Regions from separate parts of the Homo sapiens genome. Here all the other regions are linked to region 2. Evidence: promoter capture Hi-C in 16 types of primary human blood cells and fetal thymus (Javierre and others, 2016). All regions are on one chromosome and are shown on one strand. Each heading gives the region's core, a stretch centred on a gene start or on the middle of the fragment in contact. The rest is flanking DNA. Distances are from core to core; before and after follow the strand shown. Region 1 holds the start of TRPV6 (transient receptor potential cation channel subfamily V member 6). Region 2 holds the start of OR6V1 (olfactory receptor family 6 subfamily V member 1). Region 3 overlaps LOC124901764 (a long non-coding RNA gene). Region 4 overlaps LOC105375541 (a long non-coding RNA gene).

Evidence for each region. The method cuts DNA at HindIII sites, captures the fragments that hold promoters and counts their contacts. A CHiCAGO score of 5 or more calls a contact.
Region 1: a contact is called between the fragment with the promoter of TRPV6 here and the fragment with the promoter of OR6V1 in region 2, in 5 of 17 cell types (erythroblasts, neutrophils, monocytes and 2 more). The highest score is 9.0, in erythroblasts.
Region 3: a fragment that was not itself captured here is called in contact with the fragment with the promoter of OR6V1 in region 2 in 8 of 17 cell types (total B cells, naive B cells, M2 macrophages and 5 more); the score reaches 12.1 in total B cells.
Region 4: a fragment that was not itself captured here is called in contact with the fragment with the promoter of OR6V1 in region 2 in 1 of 17 cell types (neutrophils); the score reaches 5.1 in neutrophils.

Annotation. Positions count from the first base shown.
Region 1 is chr7:142,883,310-142,888,575 of GRCh38, forward strand. It overlaps TRPV6 (transient receptor potential cation channel subfamily V member 6), which reads right to left and starts at 2,436. Exons shown (of 15, transcript NM_018646.6): 1 at 2,080-2,436. The coding sequence starts at 2,327. The HindIII fragment of the contact is 18,692 bases long and covers 1-4,890 here.
Region 2 is chr7:143,050,947-143,056,062 of GRCh38, forward strand. OR6V1 (olfactory receptor family 6 subfamily V member 1) reads left to right here and starts at 1,395. Exons shown (of 1, transcript NM_001001667.1): 1 at 1,395-2,336. The coding sequence starts at 1,395. The coding sequence ends at 2,336. The HindIII fragment of the contact is 11,126 bases long and covers 1-5,116 here.
Region 3 is chr7:143,201,219-143,205,757 of GRCh38, forward strand. It overlaps LOC124901764 (a long non-coding RNA gene), which reads right to left. Exons shown (of 2, transcript XR_007060567.1): 1 at 1,958-4,539; 2 at 838-1,209. Among named protein-coding and RNA genes, the nearest start is that of TAS2R40, 19 kb to the right of the region's middle. The HindIII fragment of the contact is 871 bases long and covers 921-1,791 here.
Region 4 is chr7:142,814,591-142,819,119 of GRCh38, forward strand. It overlaps LOC105375541 (a long non-coding RNA gene), which reads left to right. Exons shown (of 2, transcript XR_001745392.2): 1 at 1-1,535; 2 at 2,166-2,846. Among named protein-coding and RNA genes, the nearest start is that of EPHB6, 38 kb to the right of the region's middle. The HindIII fragment of the contact is 1,192 bases long and covers 2,623-3,814 here.

The sequences.
Region 1 (5,266 bases), core at 1,186-3,685, 170 kb before region 2:
TGTAAAAAGAGGAGTTTGGGTTCCCGATCATCCTGGAGAGACTCAAAGCCTTCCTTTCTCACTAGACCATCCTGTACCGCATGGAATCCCACGCAATCCCACCCCACAGTTCTCCCTGTGAGTCCCCTTTGGAACAAATTCAACTTCACCATTTACTTGCTCTAGGGTTCTGGGCCTGCCCCATTCATAGGGGGATAACAGGACCCACCTTCCATTATTGTTACCGGGATGACGGAGATAAGGCAGGTGGTAGTACCTAGTACAGCACTGGGTTCTCAATCATTGTGTGCTCCTTTCTTCCATTAGCTCACCCCTCACTTGTCCATATTGTTCCTATTTACTTAGTCATCCCATGTTTATCTCAATGCCCCCATGCCTTCTCTTTGGTTGACGGCACAGATTAGGAAACTCCCCTTGCAGGCAATTTCAGCATCCTTCTGGGAAGTGCCCACCCAAAGAAGAGTCATTGCTCTGGACACCTGATATCCAGCAAGAAGAAGGCCAAGAAAGTGCGGAGGCCAGTAAGGAGATCAGGGCAGGGAGGGGGGATCCCTCCCAAGGGTGACATCAAGCCTTTCTAGCCAAAGTCTGCAGAGGCAGCCCCCATATGATCTGAGGAAAAGTGAGGGCAGACAGGACATGCGGAAGCAGCCTATTCTCAGCCACTCAGCGCAGGGCCTCCCCTCTGCTCTCCCCTGATATCGCACACAGGGAATCTCCACCACCCCTTCCAATCCCCCAGGCCTTTTTGCACTCTGTGCCTGGATCCCCTGGCCCTGGGGTCCTAAGAGTGGGAAGAGGATGAGTGAAGCCAGTGAGGACGACCTACTCTCTAACAACAATGCCATTCTGTTGCCCCAAGATGTCATCAGCCAAACATGTGCTCCAGTCCCCACTCTCCCAGGCCTTGGGGGAGAGGTGGGCGGCTGGAGAGATGGGAAGCCATAATTCACAGAAAGAGACCATCCCCAACCCAGAATCCTTCAGCAAAAGAAAACACAGGGGCCTCCAGGCAGCCTCCCCGGTCAGGCTAAAGCAGGCTCCTACTCTTGGGGTCAGAGAAAAACCCTAAGGCACAAAGACTTCAGGCTTTCCTCTATGACCAGACATCTGCCTCCTTCGTGACCCAGGGAAAGCCCCAACAGGCAGGACTTCCTTCTAGCATGCCACCAACTGGGTAGAGAACTCTATTAGAGACCTTGAAGAAGAGACCACATGCAGGGATAGCCCTGAGTTCCGATTCCCTGCTCCTCTCCTGCTCTGTACTCCAAGCTGTCATGGTGAAGAAAGCAGGACACGGGTTTAGGAAGTTTTCAGGGGCTGGAAGCCACCAGTGAATGTCCTTAGGGCTTAAACGCTAGAGTCTCGATTTCCACCACCTGAATGCGGAAGAGCACAGGTCCTCGGAACATCTGTTATTTTGACCCGCTTCCCCTCAGTCCCCACCCGCACTGAGAGAGAAATACACCTCAAGGTTGGGTTTGAGCGTTGTAGGTCTTCATATCCCCCCAGTGCTGGGCAAATAGTAAGGCCTTGGTCAGTGTCTGATGAGACAGATACATAGGAATGGTCACTTTTTTCACATTTTGTCTTATTTTCTGGTTCCTGGTGTCCGCGGTTCTCTCTGCTTCATTCATTCAATCGTTCACTCATTCCTCCATGCGAACATATGTATACTATGTGTTCCTGCCAGAGAGACTGTTCTAGAGGCAAGCAGTGGAGATACAGAAGGCATTGTCCTCACCTGCCGTCCCCTCTTGGGTGGAGGGGCTGTGATGCTCTATCCTTACAAGCCCCAGCAAGACGCCTGGCCCTTAGAGAAGTACTCACAAGAGGCTTGCAGAATCGAATTAGATCTTAAGATAGTGAACACCTGTGCCCATCTCAACCCCATCCTCTTTCACCAGCCCTACAGGCTGAGGCTCTTAAGACAGAATGCTCCCAAGGAGCCAGTCCGGGCCTGGGAGCACCATCTGTCCAGCCAAAGGTGCCAAACAAAGACGGGAGGTGAGGGAGGGGTGAGGGGTAGAGGTGCAGGCCTGGGGAGGTGGGGAAGGGAGCAGACCAAGGGGGCCTTACCTCTTCTGCTGCAGCAGGTTCTGCTCATCTCGGCTCTGGGCCCAGGACTCCCGTCTCTGGAACCATCTGCAGAACTTGCTCCATAGGCAGAGAATTAGCCCTTTCTCCTTGGGCAGTGACAAACCCATGGGGTGTAGGGCCGGCTCCTTGGGGGCCTGAGGCCGAGGCCAGACCCTGACGGGACTCAGCCTTGGGGCCACATCAGCCCCCCCAAGGGCCGGCCCACCGTCTCCCTGTAGAGGTCCCGTCTCCTGTCTCCTGCCTTCCTGACGAGTTCCTTGGGAGTCTCCCAGCAGCCCCAGCCAGTTTGGAGAGGGCTGTGAGTTTGTTACACTTGGCAGAGCCAGCCAGGACTCTGCAGGGCTGGCCTGTCTGGAGCTCCTGCTGGGAGTGAGCAGGAGGAGCCAAAGCTGCACGGACACGCCCTCCCTCCTCCCAAATTACCTGAGATTTAAAGACACAGGCCAGCCACAGACCTGCCTACCAAGGGGGACTTGTGCCAACTCCAATTCTTTCTCCACCCAGGGCTCTCTCCCTGCCCCCAGGCCAGTCACAACCAGGGAGGCCTTCAGAAAGACTGGCGAGGCCTCCCTTGGACGTCAGAACACCCAGTGACCTACCCTGAGAGACTCTAGGCAGTGAGAAAGGAGGGGAGGAGTCAGGGCAGGCCCATTCCCAATGTTGAGGACTCCCAGGAGGGAGCGCCCCACTTTCCCACAGTGCCTCTTCTGCCGACCACCTGCCTCACTCTCTGCCTCCCCCTGCTTATGTCCTGGAGAATTCCATTTTCTGGACTCTTCCAGTTTCATTCTTGCCAGGCCTGAAATAGGTATATAAATTGCGAAGATACTCAGTTCTCCCAGACTTTCCTCTCAGTCCCCATCACCTTTGGGTCAGCAAACTTTTTCTGGAAGGGCTGATAGGAAATGTAAAGATGTTAGGTTTTGCAAGCCATGTACACTCTCTAATGTACGTTATTCTTTGGTTTTGTTTTGGTGGTTGTTTTCTAACCACCCCCAAAGATGTAAAATGCATTCTTCGCTCACCAGCCAGGGCACAAAATCTAGCTCTGGGCAGACCCCCTGCTCAGGAGCTCCACAGACTGTCCACAATGCCCCGTGCATGGGGTGGGTGCCCGATAAAATACAGGACACGTGGTCAAATTTGAATTTTAGATAAACAACAAAGAATTTTTTAGTATAAATATACCCCACGTTTTGCAAGTATTCTATCTGCCAGCCTTCCCGTGGAGGTGACATTCAGCTGCTACTGTGTGCTGGGCCTTTTAACTGAGCGTTCCCAGGTAAACTCGTAACAAACCTGCAAGGCAGGTATTATTATCTACATTGTATTGATGGGAGAAACCAAAGCTCACCATGGTAAAGGAACTCTCCCAAGGCCATAGAGGTGGCAGAGGCAAGATTCACACCCATCCCTCATTCCAAGCCCACTTCTTTCTCCCTAGCACACCTCCTCATTCTAACTGGCCAACAGAGCTTCAGAGAGGTTAAGTGACTCGCACAGTCATACAGAAGAATGATGGCATTAAGCATGGCCCATCGTCTTCCCACAACAAAGAGCTCCATCATGAGCTTGCTGGAAGCTGTCGGAAAGGTCATTTAGTTCAACTTTTCCACTGGAAAGGGGCAGAAGCCCGGGCTTATCCAACCTCCTGGTGCCAGCCAGGTGCCAATAGCCTAGGGGCAGGTGTCTGGGTGTTCAGAGTCACAGGTGTGTGGATCACTTCCTAGCTTCAGAGTCTGTTTTGTCCTAACTTTCTCTGACTCAGAGTTGGAAGACCCAGCCAGGGGAGTGTGTGTGTGGCGTGTGTATGGCGTGTGTGCCCATGTGCATTTGTGTGTGGTGTTTATGCGTGTGTTCATGATGTGCATCGGTGGGGTGTTTTGTGTGTGGTATGCTGTATGTATATGATGTGCCTGTGGTGTGTTTGGTATGTGTCTACGTGTGTATGATATATGTGATATGTGTAGGTATGGCCTGTAGAGCGTGTGGATGTGGTGTCTGTGATGGTATGTGTGACATGTGTGTTGTGTATATACGTATTGTGGAAAGATTGTTGCATGTGTGTTGTGTGTATGGTGTGTAGTGGGTGATGTATATGGTACCTTTAAGGTATGTGTGCGTGTACATGATGTGTGTGTGTGTGTGTGGTGTATACATGATTTGTGTAGTGTATGGTGGGTTTACTATGTGTGTATGTATGGTGTGTGTTGTGTGTGTATGTATGTCATGGGGTGTGTGTCATATGTGCTGTGTGTGGGGGGAGTCGGTGTGTGGAGGGAGGTGGATGCTGAGGTAGGGCAGGGGAGAGAAGGACCCCTTCAAGTGGAAAGCTATTTGTGTTCCTGCCGCTGGGCAGAGGCCAGGCCACGCAGTCCTGAGCAAACAGTTCAATTGGATTAGCTTCGTCCCCACCCACCTGGGTCAGTGGGTTCGGGCTGGGTTGGGGGAAGGTGCTAGAACCCAAACCTTGAACCCCAAGACCTTTGTGCCCATTAAGCCAGTGGTTTGTCGCTTCAAAGACCTATTTAGCTTCAAAGACCCCAGTTTAGTGTCTGGTGGGGAAGGAGAGAAAGCAATGAGGCCTTCGTTACGCTGGGGAGAGAGGCTGGGGGAGGGAGGCTTTGGGAGGGAGACTTAGGGAGGGAGGAGGATAGGAGGAGGACAAAGTTGTTTTCCAATGCTCTTCCTCTTCCTCAGCCTCCTCCACCTGGTGTTGTGCATGGATCAGCCAACAGACTCAAAATTGGGGTGTCCAGATGGGAGGGGAGGACAAGTTTGCAGGATATAAGCTTCTGGCTGCAATGTTCTCTTGGTCTTTGGACCTAACATCGTATCAGTAAGGGAAGGTGGCCCTAGGGTAGGTGGCACTACCCCCAGAAGCTCCTGAAAGCACCCCCACCAATCACTTTCAGTCTCGCATTTTTTTTTTTTTTTGAGATGGAGTCTTGCTCTGTCATCCGGGCTAGAGTGCAGTGGCGTGATCTCGGCTCACTGCAAGCTCTGCCTCCTGGGTTCACGCCATTCTCCTGCCTCAGCCTCCCGGGTAGCTGGGACTACAGGCGCCTGCCACCATGCCCAGCTAATTTTTTGTATTTTTAGTAGAGACGGGGTTTCACCATGTTAGCCAGGATGGTCTCGATCTCCTGACCTTGTGGTCCGCCTG
Region 2 (5,116 bases), core at 145-2,644:
TGATAACAATAACAACAACGATTTGTTGGCTAGTATGTGCTAGTCACTGCACTAAGTAGTTTACTTATTTAATTTTATAATCACCATAGAGGCTAAGTACCAGTAATACCATTATTTTACAGCTGAATAAACGGGCTCAGAGAGAGTAAGTAACAAAGAAGAGCAGATTTACGGCCCGTGACAAGCAAGTCTAGAGCCAGAATTCAAACACAGGCAAGCCAACTCCATAGCTTACACTTTGCACCACGGCGGGAGGGGAAGTGCAATGGAGACGGCAAAGCAGCACCCTTGGGTAGACAGATTATGCCGTTGGGAAGCCTGATGACTGTGTGTGTCCTGGGAGAGCAGCCACTTGGATTTCCAGGCTCGCTCCCTGACCTGCTGCACCCTTTCTGCTCTCCATCTTTGCAAACACGAAGCAGAGGTCTCCTCTAAAGGAAGTTAATTTCTGGACTCAAAACTCTGACTTTCACTAATTTCATGATCATAGCCGGAGAAATGTGCACAAGCGAGGGTCCTCAGAGAGGCAGCTCAGAAAGGTTTGCAGGGACCCTTTAAAAAGGGTCTTGGGGCACAACCTCTGGGTGTGACATAGACGGATTAGCCTACATTTGGGGGCTTCTGGGTCACATGCACTAATGCTCTCTCTCCCTCTCTTTTTCTGTGTTCCTCCCCTTCCTGTATTTCTCTATTTGAATTTTTTCTGTTCTTTCTCTGGTCCTCTGTTGTTTCCTTCTTGTTTTCTCCCTAAATGTCAATGTCTGTTGCCATGTGGTCTTCCTTAATCTTTTCCTCTGTTTTTCTTTCTTCCCCCCCTTTTTTTTTTTCTTTTTTGAGATGGAGTCTCACTCTGTCACCCAGGCTGGAGTGCAGTGGCACGATTTCGGCTCACTGCAACCTCCACCTCCCAGGTTCAAGCGATTCTCATGCCTCAGTTTTGCAGGTAGCTGAGATTACAGTTGCCTGCACCTGGCTTATTTTTGTATTTTTAGTAGAGACAGGGTTTCACCATGTTGGCCAGGCTGGTCTTGAACTCCTGACCTCAAGTGTTCCCCCTGCCTCGGCCTCCCAAAGTGCTGGGATTACAGGCATGAACCACCATCCCCAGCCTTCTCTCTTCTTAATAATGGCTTTCTATGTCTTTCACTTCTCTCATACCCTCACTCTGTTTCTCCTTGACTCTCCCATTCCTGTTTTGTTATCTTTCTTTATTGCCGTTTCTTTCTGCTTTTCTGTTTATCACTCGCTGGCTACTTGCCTTTCTCTCTCTATTCTCTGTCTCTGTCCCTGTTTCTTCTGTTTCAAGTTCAATGGTTCTCTGTCTCTATCTCTCTGTTTCTGCCTCTCCGTCTGTCTTTTGTTTCTCTTGCATGCAGGGCCCCATACTGTGGATCATGGCAAATCTGAGCCAGCCCTCCGAATTTGTCCTCTTGGGCTTCTCCTCCTTTGGTGAGCTGCAGGCCCTTCTGTATGGCCCCTTCCTCATGCTTTATCTTCTCGCCTTCATGGGAAACACCATCATCATAGTTATGGTCATAGCTGACACCCACCTACATACACCCATGTACTTCTTCCTGGGCAATTTTTCCCTGCTGGAGATCTTGGTAACCATGACTGCAGTGCCCAGGATGCTCTCAGACCTGTTGGTCCCCCACAAAGTCATTACCTTCACTGGCTGCATGGTCCAGTTCTACTTCCACTTTTCCCTGGGGTCCACCTCCTTCCTCATCCTGACAGACATGGCCCTTGATCGCTTTGTGGCCATCTGCCACCCACTGCGCTATGGCACTCTGATGAGCCGGGCTATGTGTGTCCAGCTGGCTGGGGCTGCCTGGGCAGCTCCTTTCCTAGCCATGGTACCCACTGTCCTCTCCCGAGCTCATCTTGATTACTGCCATGGCGACGTCATCAACCACTTCTTCTGTGACAATGAACCTCTCCTGCAGTTGTCATGCTCTGACACTCGCCTGTTGGAATTCTGGGACTTTCTGATGGCCTTGACCTTTGTCCTCAGCTCCTTCCTGGTGACCCTCATCTCCTATGGCTACATAGTGACCACTGTGCTGCGGATCCCCTCTGCCAGCAGCTGCCAGAAGGCTTTCTCCACTTGCGGGTCTCACCTCACACTGGTCTTCATCGGCTACAGTAGTACCATCTTTCTGTATGTCAGGCCTGGCAAAGCTCACTCTGTGCAAGTCAGGAAGGTCGTGGCCTTGGTGACTTCAGTTCTCACCCCCTTTCTCAATCCCTTTATCCTTACCTTCTGCAATCAGACAGTTAAAACAGTGCTACAGGGGCAGATGCAGAGGCTGAAAGGCCTTTGCAAGGCACAATGATGAGCCCAGGGCCCAGGGGAACCTGGCCTGCCTCCATTGAGCAGTTCTGTGGGGAGGGAGACCTCCAGCAAGTGGGAAGAACACTGCTGAGTTTCTTTAGTTTTTTTCCCTCTGAGCAATAACTACAGTGAGCCCTGAGTGCTGCACTGTCTGGCCCAAAGCTCTTATGGACCACCATGGAAGAGTTCCCTACATCCCCTGGCAGCCGTAAGAACTCTGAGAGTAGCCCAGAGCTTTCAGTAAAGGGAAGTGCATGTGCTTTGCATTTAAGGAAGAGCAGCCAAGAAGTGCTCTATGATCAAGAGGTAGTGTCCAATCCCAGTATGTGTGCATGGGTGTGTATGTGTGTACATATGTGTGTATGCGTGTGCATGTTCCGGGTGTGCTTCTCTATCACAGTATGCACTGCTGCTGAGTGTATGCACCATAAGTGCTTGGGCTACATGGGATCAAGAGAAGAAGCAAAACTTACCAAAAACAAACTGATTGTTTTTCAATGTGTGTGTGAGTGTTGGGAGGAGGACTGGGTCCTTGTATAATTATTCATCCATTTATTCATTCATTTCTTCAACATTGAGTAGGCTGTGTGTGTCAGGCACTGTAACAGGTAGAGGGTAGAAAGGTAAAAAAGGCATAAATGGTTCTTAACCTGACAAAGCTCTTGGCCTAAGGAAGGAAAAAGTGATAAATAGCTGTTTCCAGCACAGTGGGGAACGTGCAACAGTGGATTCACAGACGGTATTATGAGCACACAGGGGAGCAACACTGAGACCAGGAGGAGGCTCAGCGACGGCTTCCTGACAAGATGACACCTGAGTAGCACATTGACTATAAGGTGGACACTGTGAGAGTGCAATTCATCAGGTACCTTTGCATCAGAGAAAGATGAAACAGAGAGAAATTAAAACAAGATAAATCTCCGCTAGTGAGGAATTATGTGGTTTCCAGAGAGGAAATATTCAGAGTTTTAGAAAGACAAAATAAACTTTGCTCCTGTATGATTAGAAACATTCATTTGCCTAAAGGCAAGGGATTGTAATAAACCTAGTAAGTTCACTTATTCAGTGATTATATATCCTATTTTACACACATACATATTATATTGTACATTACATAAAATATGAACATTATATTACATTCACATACGTGTGGGTATAAAATTCTTGAAAATCTATTATGTCCCATGCTGCCTTTGGAGTTAAACATCAGCTCCACTGTCCTCCCTCCTCCAACTATAGCCTGAAATTTTTAAAATCTTCCAGTTACTTTGACCTCAGGATCATGGTGTTCCCTTAGCTTTTGCCCATGCAGAATTTTCTAAAGTAGCCCCAATTTAAGTTGTTTTGACACACTGTTTCTGTAAGTACACTTTAATTTACCAAACTCCATATCCCAATTTGTGATATATAAACTACAACCAGGAGTTTATTCGTAGCTACACTTACTTGAAAACAATAAAACTACTAATTTATCACAAATGTCAAGCATTTAAAAAATCCACTATGTGGAAATGAATGAGGTAAGCTCATTTGGAGCTTGAGAGATGCAGCTTGCTTACCAACCCATTGGTTCTCCTTGTGACCTCCTCTTACCCCAAGCTAACTCCTTCCTAAACGAGGCATCCCTTTCTCTGGCTTTCTGAAAGTGTCTTTCTTTCTTGCTGAGATACCCCTTAGCCAAGTCGGAGGGTCTTTTCACATTCCCAGTTTCAGTTTCTGGACCAAAATTTTGCTTGTTCTTTAATTACATAACAGAGCAATGATTCTGTTGTTTGCAGTTGCTATTGAATGAATTGATGTTTTTTTCCTCTGTTTATTCTCTGCTTGCTACCTAGAAAAGTATTTGTAGAGTAAATGAAAGAAGGATGAGTAAATTAAGAATAATTCTACTAACAATATCTTACTTTTGTATACTTTTCATACTTTATGAACCACTTTTACATATATTTTCCATTTGGTTTTACCCTCATAGTAATTCAGTTAAATAAATATTCACTGATCACCCATCATGAGCAAAACACTCCACTCAGCAGTGGCTGTTAAAGATGAAAGAAATGAGGAGTCTGACCTCAAGGGGTTCCATGTACTGAGAGAAATTTAAAAGTGTGGTTAATTTCAATAAGGTGTTTTCCTATAGAGTATGAGAGCTCGGAAGGAAAATTTCTGATTCTGAAACTGCAGCAAGCGGTGTTCCCGACCCGCTTTAGCGGGTAAGGGAAACATGGCTGAGAGGAAGAATGAGTTGGTCAAAGAAATTGCAGAACCGACAGCAGGATCTGGTTCTTCAAACCTTTTTTTCCATCTCCCCATCTTTGGAATTTTCTTCTTCCATCTGAATTAAAAGTTGGGTTAATTCAAAGTTGGAACCTCCAGGATCTGAAGCTGCTCAGTTTTGCCTCCTCTAGACCCTTACTGAGCACATATCTATCAAGATTCTACAAGTTTGTAGATTTGTAATGGCAACAATTCTAGTAACCCCTTCCTCACAGTAATTGCACATTTAGTATCCATCACTTGAAAGAAACACATATTGGCAGAAAGCAAGTATAGATTCAATGTTACTTTTAAAGATTTGTGTTTCAATATCAAAGGCATAGAAGCAACCTAGATGCCCATCAATGGTGGACTGGATAAAGAAAATGTGGTACATATACACTATGGAATACTATGCAGCCATAAAAAAGAGTGAGGGCATGTCCTTTGCAGCAACTCAGATGGAGCTGGAAGCCATTTTCCTAAGCAAATTAAGACAGAAACAAAAAACCAAATACCACATCTTCT
Region 3 (4,539 bases), core at 106-2,605, 150 kb after region 2:
ACACCAGAACTAATTCCTCCTATCTAACTGTAACTTTGTAGTCATTGACAAATCTCTCCCCATTTGCCCCCTAATCTCACTATCTTCCCCAGCCTCTGATAACCACTATCCTACTCTCTACTTCTATGAGATCAACTTTTTAAGATTCCACATATTGGTAAGATCATGCAGTATTTGTCTTTTTGTGCCTGGATTATTTCACTTAAAATAATGTTCTCTAGGTTTACCCATGTTGCCACAAATGATAGTACTACAATTTTTTTTTTTTTTGAGATAGAGTCTCACACTGTTGCCCAGGCTGGAGTGCAGTGGCACAATCTCGGCTCACTGTAACCTCTACCTCCTGGGTTCAAGCAATTCTCCTACCTCAGCCTCCCAAGTAGCTGGGATCACAGGCATGCACCACTACGCCGGGCTAATTTTTGTATTTTTAGTAGAGACAGGGTTTCACCATGTTGGCCAGGCTGGTCTCGAACTCCTGACCTCAGGCAATCTGCCCGCCTTGGCCGCCCAAAGTGCTGGGATTACAGGTGTGAGCCACTGTGCAGGCCGTATTCCAGTTATTTTTTATGTCTAAATAGTATTCCACTGTGTATATATAAAACACATTTTCTTTCTCTATTCACCCATTGGTGAACACATAGGTTGATCCCATATCTTGACTCTTGTAAACAGTGCTGCAATAAACATTGAGAGTTCAGATACCTCTCAGTGATTTCCTTTGGACATATACTCAGTAGTGGGGTTGCTGGATCATATGGCTAGTTCTATTTTTAACTGTTGAGGAATTTCCATACTGTTTTCCATAATGACTTACTAATTTACATTTTCACCTTCTCATTTCTTAATTGTTTATTTTTAATAGCATCCTTCTCTTATTTTATGGAGGCAATATCTTCTGTGCCTCCTCTAAGGACACAAGCTTAAATTTTTTGTCTTCTTTGATCTTTATTTCTTCAGGGGTAATTCACTCTTGGTGTTTAGCTTGGTCTTTCTCTTTCAGGCTGTGGATTTTGTTCCTATTTCTGATCATCCTTGATTAGTAATTCATGAAGGAAAAGGAAAGGCTGTTTTGGGTAAGCAGGTATCATTCTCCAGTAGAACGGTCTCCTGAATGGAAAGGCTGATTGGAAGCTCTCTTTTGTAACTGGGCCACCTTGACAGGCTGGCTCCTCTTTTAGGTATGTGGGTGTGGAATCTGACATTAGCCTGGAAATTCAAAATGCCATAATAAAAAAAGGGTTTAATCTATGTGCAAATATCTGCACTTGAAGCCCTAGTTCTTCCTTGGAAATGTATTCAATTTTTCTAGAAAAGAATTCTCAATATGAAGGTTTTCGATGGTTCTGTATGCAGTGGCAAGGAAGGCACTGGAAAGCATCAATGATGCAGCTATATGGCAGACAGAATTTTAATGATGCCTCTGGTTTTTGCACAATGTCTCGCTCCTGCTATCCAAAGCTAGGAATCCGATAGCCAAGGCCCTCCAGGCTTCTAGCAGCCTGATCAGCCACCACATTCCCAGAGGCCCATGACATGCATATTCTGAGCATCCTTTACTCCACTTCATCTACAATATGCTTTTTCTGATTGTCCACAACCAAGAAATAGGATGAAATCTCCAGTCTGCTCTTGGCCATCCTCATTCCCTTCTCTTTAGTGTTATGATATTTTTTTCTCTATGGAGTCTCAGAAGAAAGGGAAGTAGTGAACACATTATTTAAAAAATCAAATCAAAACCTTATACATACTTTTTTTTTATCATACAAGAACCTCTGGGTCTATTTCAGAAGCTTAATATTTGGTGCCCAAAATATTTTATCCTGGACAATCTTATATTGCACAAATCTTAATTCAGAGTCATAAAAGTCCCCCAAACTGGCTTTTTAAGCTGGTGCATAAACCCCATTGATGATAGTCTTATCCTATTTTTGTTTATGCTCATGTGCTTTCTCACCTGTTAAGAAACTTGCTAATTCTATTATGCGACTCTCTGGCAAAGCTTATCAAAGCTTCAAATTAATTAAGCAGTGGCAGCTCCCAATTTCCTTTTCTTACTGGCAAAAATTTGTTTCACAGAAAATGTTTAGAAAGCTTAAGTTGGTAACAGCTGATTGTTGACCTGGAAATAAGAGGTCTTCATCAATATGTTAAGCGGTCAGGATACTTAAAGAAAAACATCTATGGAGACTTCTTAGCATGCACTCTAGGCAAATACTTGCTGTCCTTCACCATTATTTCAGGATTTTTTTTTCCTAAAAGCATAAGAACAAACACATAAATGATAAAAGCAGAATTTAGGCCAACTCTAGCTTGCCTGCCAAGTAGGTAAGATGCGGTGGCAGAATACTGGCTACACTTGTGCCTGTATCACCATGGAGACCCTACTCTGACCATCAAATAATGGGATTCTAATGAGGAATGCTGCTGAACAACAAGCATGGCTGAGCACAAAGACAGAGCTGCTGGCATTGGAACATGGGAGTGAGCAAGAAAGGGGCAGCCCAAGGGAGAAGAAAAGGTGACACTGAACGTAGGTGTCGTGATGAGAAGAAAATAGGTTGCAGGTGGTGACTGCCTGGAGACCAGCCCAAATCACCTTCCACCTTTACGTGGAATCCAGGCTCAAAGCAGGAGGGACAAACTTGAGTGGGATAAATGTGACATGAAATGAGTCAGTTTGCCCAGAATATGTTTTTACCTATGAGGTGGATTGCATGGGATGGGGGAGGGGGGCTTGTAGGCAGGAGGGGCTGGGTCATGGAAATTAAATGAATTACTTTCCTAATGTGCATTGTTGTTTTTTTTTTTTTTTACACAATTGGTTCACAAAATAAAAAATTAATCCTTACTTTATGTATGAGCTCATCTGGGATTTTGAAATAGCCTCCTGATGCACATCTGTACTTAGACCAATTCTAAATCCTGGACTAGAATTTTGAGTAAAATCATCTCCAGGCAAGAGCCAGGACCAGTGAGAGCTGAGAGGCTCAAGAAGTGATGAGAATAGATTAGATGAACCCTCACTGCTGATATCAGAATTAGAAATGAATTATAACAAGGCTGAGTTTCAAAGAGAAATGCCCAGGATGGGGTCAGGATGCACCTTTCTCTCTCTCCATACAAGCTCTCCCTGAGGGGTCTCCTCTATTCTAAGTGCTCAGGTCCCCTCACAAGCCAATGGCTTCCAAACTTGTGTTTATCTCATCTCTTGCTCTTGATCTCCAGGCCTCTCTACCCACCAACAATCCCTTCTCCTATATATATATTTTTGGGCCCAAATTTTTGCTAAGTGAATTGTTCTGGCTCTAACTATCCTCTCCTTTGCAAATGAGAGGTCTTTCATTCTAAGAATTATCATGGGCCGGCATTTGTAGCTGACATTGAAAATAAACCTCCCCCCTCCCCAGAACTGCCTATAAGATGTGATTTTCTGAAAACCTGCAGGCCTTGGGAATGCAAATCAGAGAAAGATCCAATTGTCACCAACACTTACCAGGGAACACTGCCATTTGCATCTGCACTCCAGATCCCCGGTGGCTGCAAATATATCAGTGGCTCATTCAAACCAGAGCCCAGGCACAGATTGAAAGCTTGAGTGGAGGTGGATTTGGAAAGAGGAATGAAAAGGACACAGCTCTGGAAACTGGGGGGAATGAGCCCGTGTCACTGCCAAGATGGAAGGGTAGGCAGTGCATTCCCACATGTCTGACCCTAAGATTTCAAATTTCATTAGTAGCATCTCCTTTAGCTCAACCTAACTACAAGGAGAACGAGAAATACAAGGAAGTCCCTGCCATGTTTGGGGAGCATTTTTATCTCTGCCCCAGCATCTCCCATTTTCTGCTGAACTAAAAACCTTTCTCTTTCTCAAGATATGTGGAAAAGGAAAAGGAGAAATAAGGAATATCTCTTACTTTAGTCCTTCATTTTTCTAGCTTCCCAACTCTCCAACTCAGACTCTCGCTCTGACCCCCAAGTCAAATATGGCAGGTAGCACTGCCTTCTTTAGGGGTCTTCCAGATTATGCTACCACCACCACCACCACCACCACTCCACTTTTCAGAAACATGTGGGTTTCCACTTGTCAAAAATAAAACAACCCTCTTGATCATTATAGACTTGGGGTCTTGGCTAGAGAACAAATGAAAACAGAATTAAGAACAAAGAGGCGGGGCATGGTGGCTCAAGCCTGTAATCCCAGCACTTTTGGAGGCTGAAGCAGGTGGATCACGAGGTCAGGAGTTCGAGACCAGCCTGGCCAACATGGTGAAACCCCATCTCTACTGAAAATACAAAAATTAGCCAGGCGTGGTAATACTACTACTAATAATAATACTAATAATAACAAAGAAAAGCAAATAGTTAAGTATTTAAACATTTTGAATTCCATAAATATTGATCAAGGCCCAGTATATACCTAGACTCTTTACATTTAATATTCACTATACCCATCCAAGTTCCGGGCACCTTATAATGCACACATTTGCAAGCCACAGCCCAGCACAAAGGGCACTCCCTAAATGAGAGCAACCACAA
Region 4 (4,529 bases), core at 1,969-4,468, 230 kb before region 2:
GCATTTGTAACACTTTCCCATTTCATCAGGGCCTAGTGATGTCATATGTTTGTTGTTGTTGCTGATGCTACAGTAACACAATTCCAAGTTAATGTTGGGGTTCTTGCTTCTGACAGTTTTGGCTGTAGCACATTTTTTTGTTTGCATTTGAATACACCATATGTATAGGGGAATGTTTTGTTTTTTATCATTTCAAAATGGAATTAATCCTCTTATAACATTTATTTAAATGATAAATCAAGTGGTAAATATAGTTTGCTTGCAGTGAACATTTGGAACATATGATGAAAAATAGCTATAGCCAACGCAAGAGCAGTTTTCATTGAACAGTTGTTCAATCTCAGTTTTTAATAAATCTGATAATATAATATCTGTGCATGTTAGGATTGCAGAGAGTGAAGCCAAAATAAATATGTGCACACATAGCCTATTCCTCCCTTTCTTTCCATTTCTGTTCTCTTTCCTCTTTGCTTTTGAAATTTTTATTTAGTCCTGAGTGGGGATGGGGTGGAGAGAAAGTGGACAGTGGGTGGTGGGAGATACAGGGAGAAAGAATGAGAATTGCTCTTGTTCTCAAGGGTACCGCATCACGTTTTCCTCTGGCTGGCAGTCTTTAACACCAGCGTATCCTATGAGACCTGACTTCACTCATCAGCTGCATCAGCTCAGTGTCATTACCACATGTAGACAGCAATGTAATCCTCCTTCTTAGAGATGCTGCAGCAGATTGGAGGGTGAAGAGATGTATCAGTCAGATCAGAGTAACCAGCTGGCTCCTGGCTCCTGATCATTGTCACAGCTCAGTAGCTGGAAGCTCCTTCCATATGGCTGATGCCTTTAAAAAAATCTCCTCAATCTCCATCCCCATCTGCAATACTGTTTAGTTATTCAATCATTTAAGTCATTCATGTATTGAAAAGAGGATGGGGATATGATCCCTCTGCTCTGTGGCAGTAGATCTACTAATGGGAGAGTCCTGGCCGCACATCTGGCCTGGGTCTGGAGGTGCCCTACGGAATTGAAAGCTGGCTGGAACTGTCATCTTAACATGTCCTGGTCATCTTAACGTGTCCACCTCTCTGGCAAGCCTCTTTTCAAGTCTTTTTGTTACCATCTTCAGCTTTTTCCCTCCATACTAGATTCTTAATGAATTGCTGCCAACAAGAGAAAGCTTTATACATGAAGAGAATGGCAATAAGAACTAACTCGTCTTTTTAATTTTAAAACTGGTATATATTCCTATATAATAGGAATGGAAGATACTTGCAAAGCCTATTTGTTCCTCTACAGAAGAGTTAAAAATTACCTGGGCTAATGGAAAGAAGGGAGAGTCAGCCAATTAGATGCTCCTGAATGCCCTGAATTGTGACTTACCTCTTCTTATCCACATCCTGATCAAGGAAAGGGATGAGAGAGAGGTGGAGAGAGAAGAAATGGAAATTCAAAAGTTTTGACGGCAGAGGAAAATTGTGCTTATTTCCAGAATGAGACGAACAAGGTCCTGGGTCCCTACATGTCATACTGGCTAGAGACTGGTAAGTAGAAATGACTTGTGGTCAGCAGAATAATGGCTCCCAAGGATGTCCACATTCTAATCCCCAGAATCTGTGCATGTGTTAGATTACATGGCAAAGGGGAATTAAGGTTGAAGATGGAATTAAGGTTTCTAATTGGATGCCCTTAGAACAGGGAGAGTAGTCAGAATTAATCAGGTGTGCCCCATACAATCACAAGCATCTTCAACATGGAAGAAGGAAGCAGAAGAGAGTCAAAGAAAGAGATGTGGACATGGAAGCAGGCAAGAGAGATGCCATGCTGCTGGCCCTGGAGGTAGAAGGGGGCATGAGCTAAGGAATGAAGGTGGCCTCTAGAAGCTAGGAAAGGTAAGGAAATGGGTTCTCTTCTAGAGCCCTCAGGGAAGAATGCAGCCTAGCTGACAGCTTGATTTTAACTCGGTGAAACCTGTGTCAGACTTCAGAGTTACAGAACTGTAAGATAATAAGTTTGTGTTGTTTTAAGCCACTAAGTCTGTAGTAATTTATTAGAGCAGCAGTGGAAAACATACATGGCTCTAGAATGTGTCTTAACAGAGGGACCTGAGGTAGTCTCCAAGAATCCCCAAAGATCTCAGGATAGATCAGGAATAGCCATTTTCTCATTCACAGGGAAACAGATTAACTGAGAGAAGCCATCAAGCCTGAAGAGACATCGTGTTTGAAATGTGTAAGGCACAGTGTACCCGCCGTGGATCAAAACAACCTGAAGGACAGACAGACAGACACACCGAGGATCAGCAGATATCAGTGGGGACAGGTGCTGATGATGGTGCAAATGAGAGTCATGAAGGAAAGTTAAATGATGACCAAAGACCAAGTACCTTCCCCACAATGCTTTGACAAGCGCTTTTATAAGCACCCTGGAATTTAGACACTACCCGGGGAGAAAAGGAAAGGGAGACAAGCATGAATTGTCTGAGAAACCCCTGAATTAATCATGTGTACCCCAATGCAACAAGGATCTAGATATAGAATAATTTTAATTATAGAAAACAAAATTATATTTTACCCACCCATATTTGATGCCCATGAATTTCACATCTACCTTACGTGCACATAAAATTCAAGCTTAGATAGACGGAAAACAAAAAATCAAGAAGCAATATTTGCCTTCTAATAACTTATCTATTGGAGGAGGTAAAAGATAGAAAAGTAGTTCAGATGACAAATACTAAAAGAGTTAGGAACTTCTGCTTCCACTTACGATGAAGGAACTTGTACTCAATCCATCCACTTTGTAATTCTCCTTGAGCTGCTGTAATAAAGTACCACAAACTGGGTGACTTAAAACAACAGAATTTATTGTCTCATGGTTCTGGAGCCTAGAAGTCTAAAATCAAGGTATCAACAGAGCTATGCTTCCTCTGAAACCTGGAAGGAAATTCTTCCTTGCCTATTCCTAGCTTCTGTTGATTTGCTGGCAAATTTTGACATTCCTTAACTTGCAGCTACATAACTTTAAACTCTGCCTTTGGCATTACATGGCATTTTCCCTGTGTGTTTCTGTCTTCCCACGGCTGTCTTCTTACAAGTACATCAGTCATATTAGGAGTCCACAGTGCTCCAGTATGACCTCATCTTAACTAGTCACACTTGCAATGACCCTATTTTCAAACAGAGTCACATTCTGAGGTACTGAGGGTTGGGATGTCAACATATCTTTTTCTGGGGGGATGGTGGGTATAATTCAATCCATTATACCCTCCAATAATAAACACCTAGAAAACTGGGCAATATACGTGAGATAATTGTTTTCTAATATTGGACAAGAGATGGCACAAAACTGTGATCCATAAGTGAAAGGAGACAAATGAGGTGCGTGCTGTGATCATTTCCGTTTTCTACCCAGAATTTCCTGGGTTACTGTACAAACAAGAGGGACCCAAGCAGAGCATGGCACCCTGAAATTCTTACTGAGCTGAGGACACAGCTCAGAGAAGAGGAGGCCATGCACGGAAAGAGCCCCGCAATTTTCATGAGGTCTCATTGAGTCTTTGGGTAAATACTAAGCTGGCATCCATTGGGTGAAACTCCACAGGGGCAGGCAAAGAATAAGTACTGGAGAATTAACAACTGCTGGTGAACTACAGTATGAATAATTACTAGATCTTGGTCGAGGCTGAGAGAGATACAGCTCTGAGCCATCAGAATAGCTTTGTTGAATACCTGGAACATTGAACAGGTATCCCAGGAAGCCCATAACTTAGAGTAGGACTCAAATGGCATAGAATAAGTCTACCGTCCATTAACCCTAACAAAGCTTAAAAGAGCCCTTGAAAGGAAAAGCAGACAAGTTGACCTGCAAGCAAGTCAACTGCCCACTAGAATAAAGCTCAACACTCTTTGAGAGAAGAAAACAAAATTCAGATAATAAAAAAGTAACATTCATAATGTTGAGCATCCAGTCAGAAATTATGGGATATACTTAAAAGCTGGAAAATGTGTCTATGCTAAGTAGTAATATTAGGCAATTGAAATCAACCCAGAAATGGCAGAGATGGTAAATTAAAATAATGGGACTTATAAATGGCTAATATACTAAAATGGCTATTATTAAATATGTTCAAGGATTTATAGTGAAACACAACATAATGAAGAATGAAACAGAAACTATAAAAAAGCTAAATAGAACTTCTAGATCTGAAAAATATCTGAAATGAAAATTTTGCTAGATAAGCTTAAGTTGGAGTAGACACTATAGGAGAAATGTCTATGAACAGGAAATCAGGACAACAGAAACTGTCAAAACAAGAGAGAGGAAAATAAAGCTAAACAACTACAAAAACTGGAAGAGGTCTCAGGGAACTCCCAAACAATATCAAGCCACCTAGCACACATATCATTGGAGTCTTCAACATAGAGGAGAGAAAGTGGTGGCAGAAAACAATTATTTTTAAAATAGTGGCCAAAATGTTTCATACATGATAAATAATATCCACCTACAGATCCAGGAAGCTTAGCAAAACCCAAGCA